2 separate regions of the Homo sapiens genome follow, and region 1 is linked to region 2. The links are contacts of gene promoters, found by promoter capture Hi-C in blood cells and fetal thymus (Javierre and others, 2016). All regions are on one chromosome and are shown on one strand. Each heading gives the region's core, a stretch centred on a gene start or on the middle of the fragment in contact. The rest is flanking DNA. Distances are from core to core; before and after follow the strand shown. Region 1 has its middle 8.4 kb from the start of ACTRT3. Region 2 holds the start of LRRC31 (leucine rich repeat containing 31).

The links. Contacts are between HindIII fragments. The CHiCAGO score rates a contact against its expected background, and 5 or more counts as called.
Region 1: a fragment that was not itself captured here is called in contact with the fragment with the promoter of LRRC31 in region 2 in 2 of 17 cell types (total B cells and naive B cells); the score reaches 6.7 in total B cells.

Annotation. Positions count from the first base shown.
Region 1 is chr3:169,758,052-169,764,269 of GRCh38, forward strand. No RefSeq gene overlaps it. Among named protein-coding and RNA genes, the nearest start is that of ACTRT3, 8.4 kb to the right of the region's middle. The HindIII fragment of the contact is 1,828 bases long and covers 684-2,511 here.
Region 2 is chr3:169,866,881-169,874,058 of GRCh38, forward strand. LRRC31 (leucine rich repeat containing 31) reads right to left here and starts at 3,055. Exons shown (of 9, transcript NM_024727.4): 1 at 2,753-3,055. The coding sequence starts at 2,927. The HindIII fragment of the contact is 9,706 bases long and covers 1-6,918 here.

The DNA of each region.
Region 1 (6,218 bases), core at 348-2,847, 110 kb before region 2:
AAATAACATGAGACTGCACCATATAATTTGCTTATAGAATCTCTCTCTCCAGGAAGACCTTTAAAGATGAGGAATATATGTTTCACCTTTGAAGTCTCAACACCCTGAACAATACAACATGTTGCAGACTAGGTATTTAGTGTTTGTTAAATGAACATCACAACTTTGCAAGTGGTTCATTCATTCCAGTATAATAAGATTCCAGTTATTGTGAAAAGCCATTTAAACTGTTTTCCTTACCAAGGAAAAGTTGATAGATGAGTAATTATTCTTTAACTTAAAAAGAGAATGAAAAAGTATGTGATTTTTTTAAAATTATTTTTTGTTTGTTTAGTTTTCTGTAAAGTAAAATAGCAGTTAAAAGCTAAAATGCGTGTATTTACATTCTTAGGCCTGCTACTGACCTTCTTCAAGTGATTTTACCTCCCAACGTTTCAGTTTCTCCATTTGCAGAAGGGAGATAATGGTGGTTGCCTTATCTCACAAGGATGTCATGAAAATAAGTCAGATAAATTGCTTTGCCCTCCTTGGAGAGGGGCTCTAGAAAGTAAGCATTATTAGATATGATGATGAATACCCACAACTTCAAAGATATTTTTAAATTGCCCCCCCTCCGCCCCCAAGTCTTTGAACATGTTAAGCCTATGAATAGCACTGGGGTAGGTGTTTATATATTTCTGGCAAGCTTTCACCTCTTGTTAAAGCAGTAAATGGTCTTTGAACAAACGTATTTCTCATTCTTTGATAACTATGCTTCCTTGTTTGTACACTTGAAAGATGATTATAATCTGGCATATGAGGTCAAGTTGAACTCCTTGGTGCCATTACAGTTCAAATGTAGCTTTAATTGAGTTTTTCTTCCAAGGTTGAAAATAAGTCACCCAGTTCACTTTAGCAAACTACTCGCATTTTTTAAAAAGATTGTGGGGAATGTAACTGTTTTTGCAACTGATATGTATAATGTTTTTCATTTTAGTTATAATATCCTCATTGATCATACAAAAAAGTCAGTATTTGTATTTCTTCATTATTGCATTTTTCTGTTTTCCTTAAATTGTTTTTAATAACTATAATTATGCCTTTTAACACTTATATAGACAGCCATAGTACACACATAAATATCACCAAAGTGAAAACCTAGAGCCCCAAGACAAAAAAAAAAAAAAAAATGATAGTCAAACATCATCTAGAGAAAGATTCTAGCTGCAGGTGTGCATCAAGTTCATAATTGGTGTTATTTTAAAAATTCACAAACCATTAGCACTTCCACCCTTCTCCATATATCTCTTAACTATATACCCAAGTCAAAACCACTTCCTGCCAGAGTAACTACAACATACCCATCAGAGCGCTGTAAAATCATTACTTGCAAAGTAAAGAGTAAGACAGACTTCTCCTCTCATTAATAATACCAGTTGCTGTCATATATATTACTCATATATTCTCCCCACAACCACCCTTCAAGGGAAGTCTTAGTACATCCGGTTGACACATGTGGAATGTAAAGTTGGGTGACTTATGCTAGATTCCCTCAGCTAGGTTAGAACAGGGTAAAAGTACAGGACCACAATAATATCCTTATTTCAATGTCTTCCTGTTTCCTTTTTATATCAAGGAAGAAATGAGAATTTGAGGCAACACAAATGAAGACCATATATACTTTGATACCTACCTAGGAGGGGAGATACAAACCAGAGTAAAGGAAAAATATGGGAAAAGTTGCCTCATTTCCACCTAGTGATGGTGGAACCCTTGGAACCCTCTTCACATCCCATAACGACTGACAGAATGGACACTGAAAAACAGGCCCACCCCTCAGGCAGAACCACTGGAAGAAATACCCTAACCCCTATACGTGAAGGATTAGCACTACTATTTTCAGAATATTATTAAAATTTAATTTTGAAACTTCTCTTTAGTGATATTCCCAGAAACCTATAACAGATACCACCAGTGTAAACTCCTCTCAAATACATTTATTTTGGGTAGGCCTCAAACTGGTAGGATGGTCCAAACCCTCACCCTTCTAGAGAAAGCACTCAGGAATGCTTAAATTTGCCTAGGCCAAAGGTCGCAAATTAATAGCCTATAATAGACCAGATTTTATCTCAAAACGTTTTTTTATTGGTGCATTGCAATGACTTCAGCTATCAACAACCTAAGCTAGGAGGTCCCCAGGCCATCCTTACATCTGACAAGCTGCCTACAAATTTAGGGGTTCCCACTACCCCTTCAAGTTTCATAATTCAGTAGAATGACTTAGAGAACTCAGGAAAGTGTTATTTCGGTTTTATTACAGTTTTATCATAGCAAAAGGATGTTTATTATAGTTATTATTATGGTTTTATTATAGCAAAAGGATTCAAATCAAAACCAGCCAAAGGGAGAGACACATAGAGTGAGGTCTGGGAGGGTCCCAGAAAGAAGGTTCCATTGTCCCTCTCCTCATGTCCTCAGGGACACATTTTCCTCCTAGCACACTGAGTACTGCCAACCACGGACGTTCATCCAAGCTTCAGTGTGTCCAGAGTTTTTATTGGGGCTTCATTACAGGCATGATTGGATGAATCACTAGTCATAAGGCTCAGACATGTGGCTCCAAGTCTCTCAAGAGGTCGGGCTAGTATCATGGGGCCCAAAGCCCCAACACTCTAATCACATGGCTGACCAACCCCCAGTCATGAGTCATCTCGTTAGTGTAAACTATTGGGTCTAGTCCAAGAGGCCTACCAAGAAAAGACACTCCCACCATTCTTGGTGAATTCCAAGGGTTTAGAGGCTACTTCCCAGGGTTCAGGAACAAAAGCCATCCAAATTCTTTACCATGCACTTATATAATATTTAAATTTTATTTCAATTTAGCTACCAACATTCTATAATCAGTGGTGTTGACATAAAAATCTGAATTTTTGTCTTCTCTTGCAATACTGACAATTTTAGGCTCAATTTCTGTAAGATTGCTGCCTCCTTAAAAAGGGAAGCTCATTCTCCCTACCATCTCTATAGTCTCCATTTTCTTATTCCCAGTGTGATTCACTTCTTTGTTTCCTTTCTGTCCACTGCAGACATTTAAATTTGCATATCCTGGGCTAATTCTTGGGTATTTTCGCTGTTTTTACTTCCATCACATATTATTACCTTAAAAGAATGAACATGAAGGAATGACAGTTACCTTTTGTCACTTCATTCTCATCTTATTTAAAACCACTCCTCCCTTACACTTTGTATGACGGTGGGTGCATGTGTACACACGCTTGTGCCTGTGCCATCTATTTGTCTCTTAAGTCTCGAGCCAGGCTAACATGGAATTTTTGACTGCAGAACCAGGACAAGCTGAATTAAAACTCAATGTCATCCTCAGAGTCAAAACCCATAACCAACTCCAGACCTTACAAAGGAAGCCCCTCATTCTGAAGGACAAAAGAAAAAGCATGTTTCTCAGTATTTTTAAAGCTAATGCTTCCTTCATACGCATAAAATTCTCACATCCTTCATGTGAAATACAACCTAAGTAACAAAATAAAGAGAACAAGTATCGTCATTTGCAAACTTCATATACCCTTTCTCTCACTATACCCCTTTGAGAATCACTGGTTTAAATAATATAAAAGGCATGAAACAAGCCCTAAGTACCTCAGGAACCATGTGGACATCTGTAGTCTCTCTCAGATACAGCTGTCACATAGACCTTGAAGTACAGTCAACCCTCAATATTCATAGATTCTGTATTTGTGGATTCACCTAGTCACCGAAATTGTTTATAATCTCAAAAGCAATACCTGCAGTGCTTTCATAGTCATTCATGGGCATGTGCAGAGCCCTGAAAAGTTTGATTTCCCCAACACATAGGTTCTCTTTTGCCTTTGTAGTCCAAAAAGGACACTATAAACAAGTGTCCTATTTCTGGTCTATTTAATGGCAAGTTTTTCACATTTGTATGCTTTTAGTTGGTGACTGTGCTGTTTAAAATGACCCCCAATCATAGTGCTTAAGTGCTGTCTAGCGTTCCTAAGCACAAGAAAGCTGTGATGTGTCTTACAGAAAAAAAATACTTGTGTTAGCCTTCATTCAGGCTTAAGTGATAGTGTTGTTGAATATGAGTTCAGTGCTAATGAATCAACAACATACTTTAGGATGTCTTTAACAGAAACACACACAAGATTATGTATCGATTCTTTGACAAAAATGTTGTGACCGAATGTTCCCAGGAACCTAATCCCGTAATTCCTCTGGGAGCAATGGTTCAGTATTCACTAATCCAGTGTTCACAGAGGCTTCACAGAATGTAACTACTGCAAATAACTAGAATCAACTGTACTTGTAAAAAAGTGAAACACACACAGCACAAAATCACATCGAAGAGTATTAGGGCGGGAGTGGATGTGGGGTGGAAACCAAGGTTACAACCATTAAGGAGGTTATTTTATTTTAAACCAGAAAGTGACGATGGAGTTAATGCTAACCATCTGCCCCAGGTTAACCAACAAAGACTTAGGGTGCAATACAGTGAACAGAACACTGGACTAGAACTTGGGAAGCCTAGCTTCTGGTCACAACTCTGCAAAAAAATTAACTTAGGCAAGTAAATAACTTAGGCAAGTAACTAAAACCCCTCTCCGCAGCAGTTTCTTCATCTGCTAGAGTCACTCAAATCGGTGGCAGTAAGAAGTCACTTTTGCAATAATTATTATGTACAGAAAGTTTTCACATAAATTATCTCACTGGATGACCTGTATGGTCATCCAGGATGACTGGCCGTCTTTACTCTAGAATTATATAACTTAATCATTTTACCAAAAAGAAACAATATATTTAATGTTTATAATACTAAGAATTGTCCTTTGGACTGTTTGTAATAGACATGTCAGAGGGACGACTTCAAATATGAGCTAGAAAACAACTATGGACTTATTTTTAAATTGAATGTATTAAATCACTGTTTTCTTTTTAAAAATGAAAGAAAAACATTCCCAGTCTGTGGCCATTCTTGCTTCACGGCCCTGCACCACCACAAATGTTGTAAATGTGGAGAAGCAAAAGTACCACTAGATGGAGTAAGAACAAAAGACATGCACTTGTCTGTAGTTCAAGGAGTCCCCGCCCTTGCAAAAGGGATCTTAGTCCCCGCACGGTGGCTCACGCCTGTAATCCCAGCACTTTGGGAGGCAGAAGCGGGCGGATCACCTGAGGTCAGGAGTTCGAGGCCAGCCTGCCCAACTTTACTGAAAATACAAAAAAATCAGCCGGGTATGGTGGTGTGTGCCTGTAAACCCAGCTACTTGGGAGGCTGAGAGAAAATCGCTAGAAACCGAGGAGGCAGAGGTTGCAGTGAGCCAAGATGGGGACACTGCACTCCAGCTCTGGGTGACAGAGTGGGACTCCGTCTCAAAAGAAAGAGAAGAAAAAGCGATCTTAGATCACCTTGAGTAAACTGAGGCTTACTGAAGCTGAGCTACTTCCTCAAGACTCTAGACAAGTTCTTGGCAAAATCATTCCTTACTTTTCCACAAAACCATGCTGATAGGAAAAATATTTTTCCTTATTTAGAGAACATTACCAGCAACAGTGGACTCTAGAGGTTTTTTTACATTTCTTAATTCTAATAGTGCTAAGAAATGTATCTGCTAGACAATTCCAGGGGACCTACTTAGGTAATAGGTTAAAAAGCTACAAATATACATGTTCATAAATTTACTGACATGGTCTTGACTTCTGACTTTCAATCATCAGGATTCAGGCTATCACCCTAAAGGTGGGCCTTTATATACACACCCCTGGCTGCTCTCTCTCTTGGCAACTACCCCCAGATGATCCTAAGGAATTGAAGGTATGGATTTGGGACGGAATTACCTTGTCGTGATAAGTGGGCAGAATGGCCTGTTTGTTTCTTTCAACCTAGTGGGCCATTAGCTTATTTTCTTAAAGGAAATCAGAGCCAATTCTTGTGGGAGACTGCCGGCTGGGAGGGTTGGGGGTGGGGGGTGTGGAATAAATTTCTTTTCCGTCTTTCATTATGCCTAGTGTTCCGTTATTGGAACGCTAAGCTTGTGGGGGTTATATCCTACTGCTCAAGGTCATCGCCAAGGTCTAATTTTTCAAAAAAGAAACTTCTAACCTCTGGCATAAACCGATGACCATTAAAGGAACACAATTTCCAATGTTCATTTAGATCTTCTAATTAAATATTCATTAAATGTTAAATGATCTCTCAAAAAAAA
Region 2 (7,178 bases), core at 1,805-4,304:
GAACCTGGGAGGCAGAGGTTGCAGTGAGCCGAGATCACACTGCTGCACTCCAGACTGGGTGACGGTGCGAAACTCTGTCTCAAAAAGAAAGAAAGAAACAAAATCGGCCATGGGTTGATTTTTTTTTTTTCTGTCTCAGAAAGAAAATTGGCCATGGGTTTTTTTTGTTTGTTTGTTTGTTTTTTTTTTTTTGAGGGTCTTGCTCTGTCACTCAGCCTGGAGTCCAGTGGTGCAATCATGGCTTACCACAGCTTCAACCTCTAAAATTCAAGCGATCCTCCCACCTCAGCCTCCAGAGTAGCTAGGACCACAGGCATGCACCACCATGCCCAGCTAATTTTTAAACTATTTTCTAGAGATGGAGTCTTTTTTTTTTTTTTTTTTTTTGAGACAGAGTCTTGCTCTGTCGCCCAGACTGGAGTGCAGTGGCGCAGTGGTGCAATCTTGGCTCACTGAAACCTCCACCTCCCGGATTCAAGCGATTCTCCTGCCTCAGCCTCCCGAGTAGCTGGGATTACAGGCACCTGCTACCACACCCGGCTACTTTTTTATATTTTTAATAGAGACTGGGTTTTACCGTATTAGCCAGGATGGTCTCGATCTCCTGACCTCATGATATGCCTGCCTCGGCCTCCCAAAGTGTTGGGATTACAGGCATGAGCCACCGCACCCGACCAAGACAGAGTCTTGCTATATTGCCCAGGCTGGTCTTAAACTACTGGCCTTAAGCGATCCTCCTGCCTCAGCTTGCCAAAGTGCTGGGATTACAGGCATGAAACACCATGCCCAACTGATAATTACTAAAAGTAGGTGACTATGGGGATTCTTTATTCTATTTTTGCATATGCTTAAAATGTTTTTAAAATGCTTTTAATCTAATAGATAATATATTGATGACATTGCACATAACACATAACTTTAGAGAGAGATTTGACAATATTTATTTTCATAACCCTTGAATTTGCAATCCCTGTTCTGGAAATTTATACTTTAAAAATAGCTGAAATATGGTGAAACAGGGAATGGGAAAGAAAGAAAGCCAAAGATACTCACCGAAGGACAAACAAGGAACTCACTGAGTAATTAAGACATATGAATGTGATGGAATATTATGCAACCATGAAAATTATGCATATGAGCATCATGTAGCAATGTGGGAATTGAGCAATATAATAATATGTTCTAGAAGTAGGATCACAGCTCCACATAAACTCAGGAGGAATCTGTAAGCTATTACAACTGTGGAAAAGATGCCAATCTGGCCCCAGCGACCTCTCTGACTTGTCTTCCACTACCCCTTCCTCTCCATGTCTCCCATCCTGCTTTAGCATCCCTGACTTCCTGACTCTCTCTCAAGCACTCTAGGCTCAGTCGTATCTAAAGCCTTTGCATGTACAGTCTCTTTGCCTGGAAAGCTATTTGCACAAATACCTAAGTGGCTCGCTTTATTCATTCATTCAGCAAAGCTGATTTTATTCAGATTGCTGCTCAAATGCCTCCAAATCGAAGACTTCTTTCCTCCACCCCCATCTAAATAGCACCCCATCCCATCATTCTTTGTCTCCTTAGCCTGCATTATTTTTCTTCATATCACTTATCACCACCTGAAGTTATATCTGCATTTGGTCCTTTTCATGGCTGTATTTCTAACACTTAGAGCAGGGGTTACTACATAGCAAGCACTCAATAAAGATTTATTGACTGCTGACTGACAGAACATAAATGCATGCATATGAAAAGAAAAGACTGAAAAGAATCTTAAAGAAATGATCGTTTGTGTTATAATGAAAGGAAATTCAGTATTTTCCCTACATTTTTCTGTAGTGTTATATTGCTTTTAACAATTTAAAAGTAAAATTATGAATCATTTAAAGCATGTAAGTAACATAATAAATGATTAGCACAGAGACTCATAGTTGAGTCTTTAGTCTCAAAAGTCTTAAAGTCTTTAGTTTAACCCATAAGATCACTTTAGAAGAAAACTCTAAAAAATAAAGAAACATAGAGGCTGGGAAGGGTGTGTGTGTTGTTGGTGGGGGAGGTGTGGATGGTTAATGGGTACAGAAAAAATAGAATATATAAGATCTACTGTTTGATAGCACAACAGGGTGACTATATTTATCCTTTGTTTACAAACAACCCGTTGTGCTCTTTTAGTTATTTTTAAATGTGCAATAATTTATTGCACATTTAAAAATAACTAAAAGAGGCCTGGTGTGATGGCTTACACCTGTAATCCCAGCAGTTTGGGAGGCCAAGGCAGGAAAATCACCTGAGGTCAGGAATTCGAGACCACCCTGGCCAATGCAGTGAAACCCCATCTCTACTAAAAACACAAAAATTAGCTGGGCATGGTGGTGCGCATCTGTAATCCCAGCTACTCGGGAGGCTGAGGCAGGAGAATCGCTTGAACCCGGGAGGCAGAGGTTACTATGAGCTGAGATCACGCCATTGCACTCCAGCCTGGGTGACAAGAGTGAAACTCTGTCTCAAAATAAATAAATAAATAAATAAAACTAAAGGTATAATGGGATTGTTTGTAACACAAAGGATAAATGCTTGAGGGGATGGATACCCCATTCTCCACAATATGATTATTAGGCATTGCATGCCTGTATTGAAACATCTCATATACCCCATAAATATATACACCTACTATGTACCCACAAAAATTAAAAATAAAAATATTTTAAATGTGGAAGTAAAAACAAAACAAATACAACAGCAAAAACACCAGCAGCCAGCAGCTTACCAGTCTCTGAGGTGGCTGTCTTCTGTATCCAGTCGCTGGGTTGGGAATCACTTGTTTTAAGGTCATTGTCCTCTTTTCTGCTTTCAGCATTGGAGCCCCTGAGAAATTTGTTGACAGTTGAAGTCTGGGGCTTAGTTTCTCCTTCTGAGGAAGTTTTCTTCCTTGTTTGACTCATGGTGAAGTTGATGGGGGTAGTTCCCAATAAGACATCTTCCTGTTGCTTTCTGTTTTCTAGGATTTCTAAGAAGAAAAGAAGATTCTGTCAAGCCTGTGTTCAATCAAAATATCCTCCCCTACATGACTGCCCCCCACTCCCTGCCGCACCACCTTTCTTTTTCTGTTTTTTTATTGCTGTTAATGTTTAACATGAAAATAAGAATGATGTAACCCAGGATCCAGAAGCCAATACAAACTCAAAGCAATTTGAGTTTTTAACTTTGCCCTATTTCATTGTGTGAGATACAAGTCATTAAGCATGACTTTGGCAAGCACATCAAGTGTGTCAACACATCTTAAATTACAGCTGTCAATTAGTTACCTGAAGACTTAATATGCCTTTAAAAGGGACTGGCCATTTGCAAAGCTGTCCCCAGAGGAGTTTGCCTTCAGCGACCTCTGCCTTCTGGTGACCCCCACCTCCTTCCTTTGCACATAAGCTCCTTTTTCTCTTTGCATATTCATATTTTCTCTACCCCCAACCCTGCACCACCACCCCACTGAAACATGTTGGCAGTAAAGAATTCATTCATTCCATAAATAGTTTTAAAGAATCTACTGTGGGCCAGTTAATGTTCTAAATGCAAAAGATTCAATGACGAACAAGAGACAGTTCTTGTCTTTGATGGGATCTTAACCTGGTGGGAAGATGGACCTGTATGCCATTGATTGAGTGGGACAAGAGCCAAGAGATGGGAGGTGGTCAGGGAACCCACAGTAAACTAAGCATGCCTTGGAGAACAGACTTGGAACAGTGAGTGACATTGCCTGGGTTTTGAAGGACTGCGAGTTAGCTTTTTAAGAGAGGGAAGAGTATCCCAGGCAGAAGAAAGGGTAAGCTCAAGAGCTCCCAGGCAGGAACGGCTGGAAGAGCCTAGCATTGGAGGTGGGGATGTGGGTCAGGGGGTGTGGAGGTTAGGGGTGAGGTCTGGTATGAATTGAAGCTAAAAAGGATTCGTAAAGGTCAATCTATTATCTCTCCTGAAATTTGCTTATATTTTATGGGAGGGCTAAGGACTTAAACTAAAGGGATACACAGAAGTGTTTTGTTTTGTTTTGACATAGAGATGGATTTTCACCATGTTGGCCAGGCTCGTCTTGAATTTCTGGCCTCAAGTGATCCGCCCACCTCGACCTCCCAAAGTGCTGGGCTTAAAGGTGTGAACCATCATGCCCAGCAGAAGTATTCTTGAAATTACAGTTTTCATAGTCTCCTCTCTAATAAAATAGCTCTTTCTGTAACATTATGTTCCAGAATGGTCCAAGAAACATTTTACACAGGGAATCCTAAAAATGGACCTTGCAGAGCCCACCTCCACTCGTGAGGGCTGGAATGTTCCATGCACTTGGAGCACTGCTTTGGAAGTCACAATTGGACATTCCATTTTTCTTTTAAAATCTTCCTTTCATATTAGAGCAGGGCCCAGCCCTGGTTTACCCAGCAACAGACAGCAGTGGAACTAAACAATTACTCCATGCACAGCAGCACAGCTGACTAGAGTCTCAGGGGGTTAGGTGGAAAAGAAGAAGGAAAGGGGCGCTAACTCATAAATCTAAACATGACCTGCAGCCCTGGCTGCCTCACCCTGATTCCACCATCACCCCAGGCCTTTCTCAATTTGCTACTCTTCTGGCCCCCCACCCAGGACACCTCCATGGTCATTTTCAGCCAATTTCACCATTTGGAGATTTAGACAGGGCTATTCTCTGGGGAGCTAGCTCAGTAAATGGTTTCACTTTTTTATCCTCCCCCCAAATGCACTGACTCCAACTCCCCAAGTCCTAAGAAAACAGTGCTGGAGGGTGCTCCAGGATGTGGTAATTTACCCAGGTGAAACCACACCCAGCTTCTGAGGCCCAGCCAGTTCTCTGTGAAGATCAGTACACTAAGGAACAGGGGAGCCAGGAAGCCAAGAAACACAAGAACCAAGGAACAGAAGAGGATGTGAAGGAGAGGAAAGGAACAGGAGAATAGAAAGCAACCAGGAGGCTAATAAGGCAACAAGAAAGGACCATGCCAGAGGAAGGAAGGCTTTTGAATGAAAAGGGGGAAGCATTTGCACATTTCTTCATGTATAGTAGTTAAGTGCTAGGTTACCATACTCATATTTAAAAATAATAATAATTTTTTCTTGAAAATATGTCTGGGAAATTCCTCTTTATATAAAAACTTTAATAAGCCCTCAGGCTTCCCAAACCAAGTCCATCTTTAAAATCTTAGCTTCAGTAAACCTTCCGCTTCCTCCTTATCCCTGAACTGGACTTTATAAAGGAAATCCCTGGAAAAGGAATTTGGGAAAATTTGCAGATCACAGCACAACCACCACAATACAGCAGCTAAAAACTGGGGGTTTGTCCCTTCTACCAGGGTCAAAAGCATTCACTTAAGAGCCCTTAGGAATAAGAAATGGCTGATATTTCAATTCAACTCATCAATATTAATTGAGCAGATACTTTCCATATTTACTATATTCTTAATAGTTAAGGTTTTGCCATGAAGCCTCAAGAGTAATAATACATATTTGACACGTCATTTCTCTTGCATGTAAGCTCTTTTTATTTATTACTTTTGCAAAAGTAAGGAATACCTTTCCTTTCTTGTCAATCCTTAGGTTTGGGTTTAATATAATTTAAAATTTTTGAGGAATGTCTTTAAAGGTCTTTCTTTCTTTATTCTTTTTTTTTTTTTTTTTTGGAGATGGAGTCTCACTGTTGCCCAGGCTGAAATTCAGTGCCGCAATCTTGGCTCACTGCAACCTCTGCCTCCTGGGTTCAAGTGATTCTCCTGCCTCAACCTCCCAAATAGCTGGGATTACAAGCATCCGCCACCACACGTGGCTAATTTTTGTATGTTTAGTAGAGACGGGGTTTCACCATGTTGACTAGGCTGGTCTCAAACTCCTGACCTCAGGTGGTGCGCCCACCTCGGCCTCCCATAGTGCTGAGATTACAGGCGTGAGCCACCGCACCTAGCCAGTCTTTCATTTTTTGATGTAATGTTTCAGAGTGAATCATATTTTCAATGTTGTTTGTCAAAGGGAGATGCATTTTTCTTTCTCCACAGTCTTATTTCATTAAAAAAAGAAAGGAAATTCTGTTGCCTGTTACAACATGAATGAATCTTGAGGACATTAGGCCAAGTGAAATAAGCCAGTCACAATAAGATAAATACTGTATGACACCTCTTCTATGCAGTATCTAAAGTAGCCAAATTCATGGAAACAGTAAAAATTGTGTTTGCCAGGGGCTAGGGGGAGGGGAAGTAGGGAGTCGTCTGATGGGTATAAAGTTCCAGTTTTGCAAGATGAAAAAGTTCGTCTTTGTACAACTTTGTGAATCTGTTGTACAACAATGTGAATATATTTAACACTACTGAACTGTATACTTAAAAATGGTCAAGATGGTTAATTTTGTGTTCTGTAGTTTTTACCACAATTAAAACATTTTTAAGTGTATTTTTAAAAAGTGATTCAGGCTGGGTGCAGTGTCTCACACCTGTAATTCCAGCACTTTGGGGAGGCCAAGGCAGGCAGATTTCCTGAGCTCAGGAGTTCAAGACCACCCTGGGCAACATGATGAAACCCCATCTCTACTAAAATACAAAAAATTAGCCGGGTGTGGCAGTGTGCACCTGTAGTCCCAGCTATTCGTGAGACTGAGGCACGAGAATCGCTTGAGCCCAGGAGGCAGAGGTTGCAGTGAGCCAAGATTGCACCACTGCACTCCAGCTTGGGCTACAGAGTGAGACTCCATCTCAAAAAAAAATAGAAAGTGATTCAGAGGACTGAACTCCAAATGTAAAGTTTTAAGAATACAGTAATCAATTTCTACTTTTATTTTCCTTCTTATGTATCCACAAATGTGACATGATTTTAGAAAATCCATGCCTAACTACTAAATAGATTTTTAATAAGCATAAAATAAAAATCCTAGGTAATCGGAAAAAAAAAAGCTTCAGTCACTCAGTTCTAAGGCATTGTGGTGGCACGCAGTATCTTGAGTTCTATGTCTGATGAGCTTAGTTCAGCCTTATTCAGAACTCTTGTCTTAAAGAGGCATTATTGTAGATATATTTGTAGTACTTTAGTTCACTGTACTATTTTTAGTTAATTTAAGCAGAAAAGGAATTTATTAAAAGAATGATATGGAAGTTCTACTAAAACGATGGCAGAGGTAAATATGTGTTTACCTCCACTTCTCTTGAAACCCT